Linked DNA regions of Homo sapiens: regions 1 and 3 are each linked to region 2. The links are contacts of gene promoters, found by promoter capture Hi-C in blood cells and fetal thymus (Javierre and others, 2016). All regions are on one chromosome and are shown on one strand. The core of a region is centred on a gene start or on the middle of the fragment in contact, and the rest is flanking DNA. Distances in the headings are between cores, read along the strand shown.

What was found. Contacts are between HindIII fragments. The CHiCAGO score rates a contact against its expected background, and 5 or more counts as called.
Region 1: a contact is called between a fragment that was not itself captured here and the fragment with the promoter of ACSM3 in region 2, in 1 of 17 cell types (endothelial precursors). The highest score is 5.1, in endothelial precursors.
Region 3: a contact is called between a fragment that was not itself captured here and the fragment with the promoter of ACSM3 in region 2, in 1 of 17 cell types (endothelial precursors). The highest score is 6.9, in endothelial precursors.

The regions. Positions count from the first base shown.
Region 1 is chr16:21,059,640-21,062,809 of GRCh38, reverse strand. It overlaps DNAH3 (dynein axonemal heavy chain 3), which reads left to right. Exons shown (of 62, transcript NM_001347886.2): 25 at 127-328; 26 at 2,454-2,546. Among named protein-coding and RNA genes, the nearest start is that of DNAH3, 90 kb to the left of the region's middle. The HindIII fragment of the contact is 2,675 bases long and covers 235-2,909 here.
Region 2 is chr16:20,762,248-20,765,563 of GRCh38, reverse strand. ACSM3 (acyl-CoA synthetase medium chain family member 3) reads right to left here and starts at 1,550. Exons shown (of 14, transcript NM_005622.4): 1 at 1,439-1,550. RefSeq lists an enhancer at 1,284-1,413. The HindIII fragment of the contact is 1,761 bases long and covers 1-1,709 here.
Region 3 is chr16:21,132,356-21,135,681 of GRCh38, reverse strand. DNAH3 (dynein axonemal heavy chain 3) reads left to right here. Exons shown (of 62, transcript NM_001347886.2): 8 at 1,228-1,423. Among named protein-coding and RNA genes, the nearest start is that of DNAH3, 17 kb to the left of the region's middle. The HindIII fragment of the contact is 2,486 bases long and covers 611-3,096 here.

The sequences.
Region 1 (3,170 bases), core at 323-2,822, 300 kb before region 2:
TTTGTGAAGACCGCAAGACATAACTGGTATTCACGTAGGTGCGGACTACCTGTCAGAAAGTATCACCTTGCTAGAAAAAGTTCTTGGAAGAGGTTCCAGTTACCATCTTTCTTTGCTTTGAAATAGATTCTTCTTCCTATCAAACGATGAGCTGCTGGAAATCTTGTCCGAGACAAAGGACCCTCTCCGAGTGCAGCCGCACTTGAAGAAGTGCTTTGAAGGAATTGCCAAGCTTGAGTTTACAGACAATCTGGAAATTGTGGGCATGATCAGCTCGGAAAAAGAAACTGTTCCATTCATACAGAAAATCTACCCAGCTAATGCCAAGGTAACTCCTCTTACCCATTTTTGGTTCTTTTCTCCATAACAGAGTAAATCAGAGAGCGTATTGGCTAAGCACTGGGACTAAGCACCAGACTGCCTGGGGTATGGAACACTTGGGTTCTACGATGTAACGACTGAAGATTTGGGGAAGTTACTCAATCTTTCTGAGTCTCAGTGTACCCATCTCTAAGATGGGGATTCCACTGCAATCCACATGACATATTAAATTTGTGGATTTTAACCCAACTCGATGTGGAGTCAATTGCAGGAATCAGATCCAAACAGCCGATGCTGTTTAGATTTCCATGTGCAGAGTTCAGTTGAAAGTGATTCAGTTAGACAGGTAGCTTCCTGGGGCATTCATTTTAAAGATCAATAAAACATCATAGAATCAATGAGAGCTATAATGCAACTTAACTCAGGTTTTCATACATATGTCCTTATATAATGAGTAAAGTATAAATTACTTCCATTTCTGCTCAGTGACAGCACCCTCAAGTGGAAATAGACAAGCAAGCTGAGCCTTGCTTTGTTGACTGTTTTTGCCACCCACGCGTATAAACTGCAGCAACCAGGAGTCACATTACCAATGCAGACACCAGCTAGCTTACAAGCACCTGAAGTCAATAGCTACAGTTACCTGAAATTCTAACACTGAATAATTTGGGGCATATTTGAATTTCCCTATGGAGTTTTGATCAAAATCCAAATGACCAGGTTGCATCCCATACCAATTAAATCAGGAAGTCTAGGGGTGGGAGTCAGTCATCAGTATTTTTTAAAAGATCTCCAAGTGATTTCAAGGAACAGCAAAGTTTGAGACCCACTGGAATAATGCATGAATCAGAGCTGTTCATTTAAAAGATGCAATTTATTTTATGAACTGACATAAATGTTTCATTTGCCTTCTGAGAAGTTGTCTGTTTCAGAAAATGACATGAAAGTAATGCGTATTAAAAATGGGCCGGGCGTGGTGGCTTGCACCTGTAATCCCAGCACTTTGGGAGGCCGAGGCGGGTGGATCACCTAAGGTCAGGAGTTTGAGACCAGCCTGGCCAACATGGCGAAACCCTGTCTCTACTAAAAAGCCAGGTGTAGTGGCACATGCTGTAATCCCAGCGACTTGGGAGGCTGAGGCAGGAGAATCGCTTGAACCCAGGAGGCGGAAGTTGCAATGAGCCGAGATCACACCATTGCACTCCAGCCTTGGGTGACAAGAGTGAAACTCCGTCTCAAAAAAAAAAAAAAAAAAAAGGCCTATCGCCCCTTTAGAAGGCATATGCTTCTGAGAATACAGAAAATAAGTGTCAAGCAGATAAAGAATATTGGAATATTGGCTGGGGCCAAGGCCAGGTGCCATGGCTCACACCTGTAATCCCAGCACTTTGGGAGGCTGAGGCAGGAGGATCTCTTGAGGCCAGGAAATCAAGACCAGCCTGGGCAACATAGAGAGACCACGGCTCTACAGAAAAATTTAAAAGTTAGCCGGGCATGGTGGCATGTGCCTGTAGTCCCAGTTACTCAGGAGGCTGAGTCAGGAGAGTCACTTGGGCCCAGGAGTTCAAGGCTGCAGTGAGCCAGGATCGTGCCACCGCACTCCAGTCTGGATGACAGAGCAAGGCCCTGTCTCTCTCTATAAAAAAAAAAAAAAAAAAAAGAAGAGACCAGGCGCAGTGGTTCACACCTGTAATCCCAGCACTTTGGAGGCCGAGGTGGGCAGATCACGAGGTCAGGAGGTCAAGACCATCCTGGCCAACATGGTGAAACCCCGTCTCTACTAAAAATACAAAATTCATCAGCCGCGGTGGTGGTGCACGCCTGTAATCCCAGCTACTCGGGAGGCTGAGGCAGGAGAATCGCTTGAACCAGGGAGTCGGAGGTTGCAGTGAGCCAAGATCATGACAGTGCACTCCAGCCTGGTGACAGAGCGAGACTCTGTATCAAAAAAAAAAAAAAAAAGAAAAAAAAAAAGAAAAAAAGAACGGGGAGACAGAGAATATTGACTTGAAAAGGTGCCAAGCCTTTGGCATCCCTCCAGCCGTGTCCAGAGAGAAAGCTGTGTTCTGCCCACTCTCCCTCCCTCTGGGCTTTGGTTGACTGCTGCACCCTCTCTCTGTCTTGCTCCATAGGGCATGGTGGAAAAGTGGCTCCAGCAGGTGGAGCAGATGATGCTGGCCAGTATGCGAGAAGTCATTGGACTTGGGATTGAAGCATATGTCAAGGTAAACAAGAACCGGGGTACACATGCCAGGACACTAGTGCACTAAAGAGAACATTGGGGAGAAGGTTCATGTGTCAGTAGTTTGGCTGGACCCTCTGCTTTCTACCAAAACCTGTCCCTCTGCACCTCTCTTTCCTTCACTTGTGAACCCTGGGGCAATGAACCTATTCCTGGTGAAATACTGGCAGTTAGAAGCAGGTGATGCAAGAGAAGAGGGTTAGCTGGAACCCTCTGGTTGCCACGGACCAGTCCTTTTTGTCAAATGGGATTAATGGCACGAAGTCTATTTAGAGTCCCTTCCAATTAATAATTCATTTACCTTACAGATGCCCTGAGTGGCATAACTCATTGTGTTCCCAAAGCTTAAAGGGAAATAGGTATGACGTAAGGCTTAAGACAAAAGAATCTATCAGAATAACTTGGTACCCAGCCTGTAGTCACATTCACGTTGAGCGACTCTAGCTCTCTTTCTTCTTTTTTTTTTTTTTTGAGATGGAGTCTCACTCTGTCTCCCAGGGCTGAAATGCAGTGGTACGATCTTGGCTCACTGCAACCTCCACCTCCTGGGTTCAAGCGATTCTCCTGCCTCAGCCTCCCAAGTAGCTAGGACTACAGGCAACCACCA
Region 2 (3,316 bases), core at 301-2,800:
GAGATAAATATATCATACTTAGCTTGCTGATTCTGAATAGAATCAGAGTTTAGTATGATTTGTTCCCTAGCTCCCATACAATACTCTACACCACATTCAGAATCCTTCAAACGTATGTTGAAAAGAAAATTGATCAGTCATTTGGAGCTTAAAATGAACCTAACCATTCTGTTCTACCAAAAAGCAAATATCGACATCCTCTTCATCAAAACCATAAGATTACCTTCTCCTCAACAAAGTTCTTTTCCTCCCTTTTCATCGATCTTAGCATTTTACAACTTCTATTTCCCAGGTTTATAAAATTATTTGTAGGTAAAATTGCTGAGATAACTTTCCCAGGGTGACTCCAGATTTTTATACTGAGCCACAGAAACATTGGTAAGGAAAACTCTTCTAAGAAAGACAGTACCACCCCTGGTCAGATAGGCTTCTGAAAGTATTTAAGGTCTCATCTGAAATGCAAGCTCTTTGTCCCTACAGCCAAGGGGGCTTTAGCCTCCCCACAGCTCCCTAAACATCCCTCCCTCTAAGTATCCAAGTAATAACAGTAGTTTAACATATACAGCCTCAACGCAAGGTAAATTCACTGCTGTTGTCTCCAAACCCAACCAGACCCTGCCTGAAGCCCCTCCTATACAGAACTTTTGCAGCTGCCCTTGACCACCTAAAGGAGAAAACTGGCTGCTCTTAGGTTTGCATCTGTGTTTCCCAAAGTTTCCTGGAAGTAATTTACATACTTTCTGGATGATGCAGAAGATGGATTCCCATCTGTCACTGAGCAAGGTGGGGAGCTAAGCAGACAGTACAATGAAAATCTCAGCCACTACCTGGTCTTTTTTTTGAGATGGAGTCTTGTTCTGTCACCCAGGCTGGAGTGCAGTGATGCAATCTCAGCTTACTGCAAACTCCACCTCCCAGGTTCAAGTGACTCTACTGCCTCAGGCTCCCAAGTAGCTGGGGTTACAGGCACCTGCCACCACACCTGGCTAATTTTTTATTTTCAGTAGAGATAGGGTTTCACCATGTTGGCCAAGCTGGTCTCGAACTCCTGGCCTCAAGTGATCTGCATCTGCCCACCATAGCCTCCTAAAGTGGTGGGATTACAGGCTTGAGCCACCGCATCTGGTTCAATTAAAATTAAAAAAAAAATTTATCAACTTAATACATGTACATAGTTTTTCAAAAAATCAAATAGCACCAAAAGGCTCAACATGAAAACTCAGCTGCTACATTTATAGCCTTTTGTGTGTGCATACTCCTCATCACTTAATAGATAGTATCACACAACTGAGAAATTCTGAGAGAAACTTTGGCTGCCCAAGACTTTAATGACAGCATTTTTGATTGTTGGTTTTGTTCATCTGTTTGTTATCTTTGCTCAAAAAACAGATGTGCCAGTTCAGGAAATCTTACACAGGAGGGGAGATGAGGTACTCACTAGTTAACAGATTCCAACACAGATGGAGATTATGGCAGACTTGTTTCTTAGAAGAGCAGCCCTGAACCTTGAGTTCTCACATCTGCTTTTTCCTCGTGGCAGTCTAAAGAAGAGGGAGGAGCAGTCTGACAATCCGGAGGAGCAAGACTGGCCCAAAACACTTTCCTTGATTGGTGGAGACATTCTGGAGGAGGAGCCAAGCTCTGGGCTAAAGTTTACAGGACTCCCAGCGGTTCCTCTTACAGGTAATGATTTACAGAAACAGCAAGCTTTTGAGGGGCGGAGAAAGCAAATTATTAACAAGAAGGAAAGTGTCCAAGGAGTTGCCGAAGTGGTTAGTTCTGTAAAGGGGCAGAGAGAGCACTTCTCAGAAGGAAGAACAGATGGAGGAAGCCATAGAGGAGTTTTGAAATTGAAAGGAAAGAAGTTGAGGGGCGGTTATGGGTTGGCCTAAATCTCATCAAGCCCATTGGTGCGTTTATCTGTCGAAGTGGCAGGACTAAACATAAACGCTATCAGGTTACTCCCCTGCTCAAATCTTTCAGTGCTTCTTTTTCCACTCCAGGTAAAATCCGAGTCCTTACATGAACTGCAAGGAGTTGTATGATCTGGCACAGGGTCCTCTGATCCACAGCCCATTCTCCTTCCTCTGCCTCACTCTGCACAGCCACCGGCCTCCTTGCTTTTTCTCAAACACACTTGCCTGTTTCAGCCTCAGGCTTTCTGAATTCACAGTTTCCACTGACTGGAACTCTTTCCTCAGATATCCCCCTGGCCAAATTCCTCATTTTCTGAGGTGTCTTATTAAATAACTCTTCCCTTACCTCATTTTCTAAAGTAGCACTCTTCATTTTTTCTCTTTTACCATTTTTTAACTTTTTACATCTCTTACTATCACCCTTGAGGGTAAGAACTCTTTTTGTTTGATGGTGTATCTATTGCCTGGAATAGCTACTGGCAAATTTTAGGCATTCAATAAATAGTTGATGGATATGTGAATAAATAAAGGACTCTTTCAATTACATGTGAGAGACCCAACTTTACTTAAAGAGGAATTTGTTGGTCACTTTTGAGTTCTAGGAGTCTTTTGTTGTTGATTCCTTGGGATTTTCTGTGTAATCACATTACCTGTAAATAAGTAAACAGATCTTACTTCTTTCTTTCAGATCTATATGCGTTTTATTTCCTTTTCTTGCCTTATTGCGCAGGCTAGAGTGTCTAGCTCTACGTTGAATAAGAGTGATGAGAGCAGACATCCTTGCCTTGCTTTTGATCTTAGAGGGAAAACATTCAGTCTTTCATGGTTAGGTACAATATTAGTAGTAGGTTTTGTGTAGATGCCCTTTATCAAGTTGAGGAAATTCTCCTCTATTTCTATTTTTTTCTGAGTGTTTTTATCATGAATAGGTGTTGAATTTTGGCAAGTGTTTTTTCTGCATCAGTTACTATAAGCATGTGGTGTTTTTCTTCTTTAGCCTGTTAATAAGATAGATTACACTGATCTTCTAATATTGAACCAGCCTTGCCTCCCTGGAATAAACCTTGCTTGGTCCTGTTGTATATTTCTTTTTCTGTATTGCTGAATTCTATAGTTATGTCTCTTGACAAATTTGAGAACTTTTCAGCTATTATTTCTTGGAGTAAATTTTTAGCCCCCATGTTAGATCTTTTATGATAGTTTCACAGGTCCCTGAGGCTCTGTTCTTTTTTTTCTTTTTTTTCCCATTCTAGTTTCTTTCTTTTGTTCAGGTTGAGTAAATTCTGGCTTCCAGTTCTTTGATTTTTTTCTTCTATTATTTCTATTCTGATGTTAAGCTCATTATTAGAGACAGGGAAAAAACAGTGTTTTTTTTTCTACTCTCACATACCATTCAGCAT
Region 3 (3,326 bases), core at 604-3,103, 370 kb before region 2:
GATCTCTGCTCACTGCAACTGCAGAGGTTGGTCAGGATTTCAAGACCTACCTGGGCGGACCCCTGGGTTCACGCAATTCTCCTGCCTCAGCCTCCTGAGTAGCTGGGACTACAGGCACGCACCACCACTCCCAGCTAATTTTTGTATTTTTAGTAGAGACAAGGTTTCGCCATGTTGGCCAGTCTGGTCTCGAATTCATGACCTCAAGTGATCTACCCACCTCAGCCTCTCAAAGTGCTGGGATTACAGGTGTGAGCCACCGCACCCAGCCTGCTACTTGTTCTTTATGACCCAGCACAAATGTTACATCCTCTATGAAGCTTTTCTACCAACCTTTCTTAGTATGGAAAACATTTGGTCTTTAAACTTCTATTTGTAAATATAATGGATGGTATCATCCATGGTGGGTTTTTTTGTGTGCATCTATTTTGGTGTGAGAAATCAATCAGTGACTAATGAGTTATCAGCAAATCCTATTTCATTGTCCTGCCTGATACTAGACATCCTACCAGGGCTCAACCCCAGATTCTAAGTGCTCCACACCGTGAAGTCACACTCCTCCTTTCTGTAAAATACCCTCAGAAAGAAAACAAACACCAAGAGTGAAGCTTCACCAGTTGAATTATACCCAGGGGATTACCCATGACCTTGCAAATGGACAGAGGCTCATTTATATTCTAAGAGTTGAAGCTAAGGCCAGGTGTGCTAGCTCACACCTATAATCGCAGCACTTTGGGAGGCCGAGGCGGGTGGATCACCTGAGGTCAGGATTTCAAGACCAACCTGGCCAACATGGCAAAACCCTGTATCTACTGAAAATACAAAAAATTAGGCAGGTGTGGTGGCAGCCACCTGTAATCCCAGCTACTCAGGAGGCTGAGGCAGGAGAATGGCTTGAACCTAGGAGGCGGAGGTGGAGGTTGCAGTGAGCTGAGATTGAACCATTGCAATCGAGCCTGGGCGACAGAGCGAGACTCCATCTCAAAAAATAAATAAATAAATAAATAAAAAGAGTTGACTCTAAGGCCAGGCATAGCAACTCATGCCTGTAATCCCAGCACTTTGGCAGGCTGAGGTGGGAGGATCACTTGAGCCCAGGAGTTTGAGACCAGCCTGGCCAACTTAGTGAGACCCCGTCTCTATATTAAAAACAAAACTAAATGAGTTGAAGCTAAGAGCACAACCCTTAGAGCTTAATAATGAGGTGTTCGCCCTTTCCGGTTGTAGTTGATTACATCCTCATGGACCCAATGGAGAGAAAACGGCTCTTTATTGAGAGCATCCCCCGCTTGTTTCCTCAAAGAGTGATCCGGGCCCCTGTGCCCTGGCACAGTGTCTACAGGAGCGCCAAGAAGTGGAACGAGGAGCATCTGCACACGGTGAACCCCATGATGCTCAGGCTGAAAGAACTGTGGTTTGCAGAGTAAGAAGTCCCTCCCTTTTTTTTTCATTCCCTTTCTTGACCACATCCACGTGTAAGCAAGCCTATTCTGCTGTGCACAGTGGGGGTAGCCCTGACAGCATAGAGAAATGAAAGAAAAAAAAATCTAGGCCAAATATGCATGTGAATTATAAGTGACACCTTTCCTTGCAGGCTTACGTGGCCCTCCTTTGTGTCCCCAGGGCACCCTGTGCCTGTCTCTAAGCACTGGAATATCCTGCTTAATTGCACAGACTTGGAGCCAGCCTGCTCAGGTCTAACTCCTAGCTCTGCTGCTTTACAGGCATATATGTGGTCGCATCACTTTTCTGTGCCTTGCTTCCTTTACCTCTAAATTTGCGATAATGTTAATAAGAGTTTCCACTTCATAGGATTGATAAGAGGAATAAATAACTTACTACATCCAAAGCACTTAGAACAGTATCTAATATAACTTAAGCACCAGTAATTGTTAATTTGGCATTACCTCCATTACAACATCACCCTCAGTTTTTGTTTTTGAGACAGAGTTTGGCTCTTGTTACCCAGGCTGGAGTGCAATGGCGCGATCTTGGCTCACTGCAGCCTCCGCCTCCCGGGTTCAAGCGATTCTCCTGTCTCAACCTCCCGAGTAGCTGGGATTACAGGCATGCGCCACCATGCCTGGCTAATTTTGCATCTTTAGTCAAGATGGGGTTTCTCCATGTTGGTCAGGCTGGTCTCGAACTCTCGATCTCAGGTGATCTGCCAGCCTCAGCCTCCCAAAGTGCTGGGATTAGAGACATGGGCCATCGCACCCAGCTCACCCTTGGTTATAATAGAACATTTACTTATTTGTCTCCCTTTAGCCTATGAAGTGTGTGCGGGCTTGGGTTTTATTCCTTTTTTTTTTTTTTTTTTGAGACGAATCTCACCCTGTCACCCAGGCTGGAGTGCAGTGGCATAATCTCGATTCACTGCAACCTCCTCCTCCCAAGCTGAAGCAATCCTCCCACCTCAGTCTCCCAAGTTAGCTGAGTAGTTGGGACCACAGACCCACACCACCACACCCAGCTAATTTTTTGTATTTTTTGATAGAGACGGAGTTTCACCATGTTGTCCAGACTGGTCTCAAACTCCTAAGCTCAAGCAATCCACCCACATCGGCACCCCAAAGTTCTGGGATTACAGGTGTAAGCCACCACGCCCGGACGGTCTTATTCCTTTATGTAACTCAGTGCCAGTACAGGGCTGGCAAGCAGTGATCTCTCAGGTATATTTATCAATAATTAAATTTGCGAAACTCCGTCTCAAAAAAAAAAAAATTGTAGGAGTCCAGATGAGACAGAAGCCACCTTTTTTCATTCTTTCATTTTAAAAAAAAGTGAGATATCCACATTCCATAAAATTCACCCTTTGAAAGTACACAATGCAAGTTTTTAATATATTCACAAGTTTGTTTAATCCTTACCACTGTCTAATTCAAGAGTATTATCATTACCCCAAAAAGAAACCCATTAGCAGTCACTCCGCATTCTCACCTTCCCCCATTTCCTCCCAACCACTAAGTGATTTTCTGTCTCTATGGATTTGCATATTCTGGACATTTTATAGAAATGGAATCATGCAATATATGATCTTTTGTGTCTGGTGTCTTTCAATGAACAATATTGTCAGTCTTCATCCACACTGAAGCTTGTATCAGTAGTGAGTGCTTCCTTTTTATGGCGGCATACTAATCCATTGGATGGCTATCCGACATTTGTTTTATCTATGCATCAATTGCAGTGAGCCTGGAGGTGGAAGACTCTGGTTTTTTTAGTGAGCCCTTCAAGAAGGTACACATCCTGGTGAGAGGATGAAGACACCGGAGTTCACTGAAAGGCCAGGCTAATGAAATGATGAGCTGCCCCCATCTGAGTTTTGT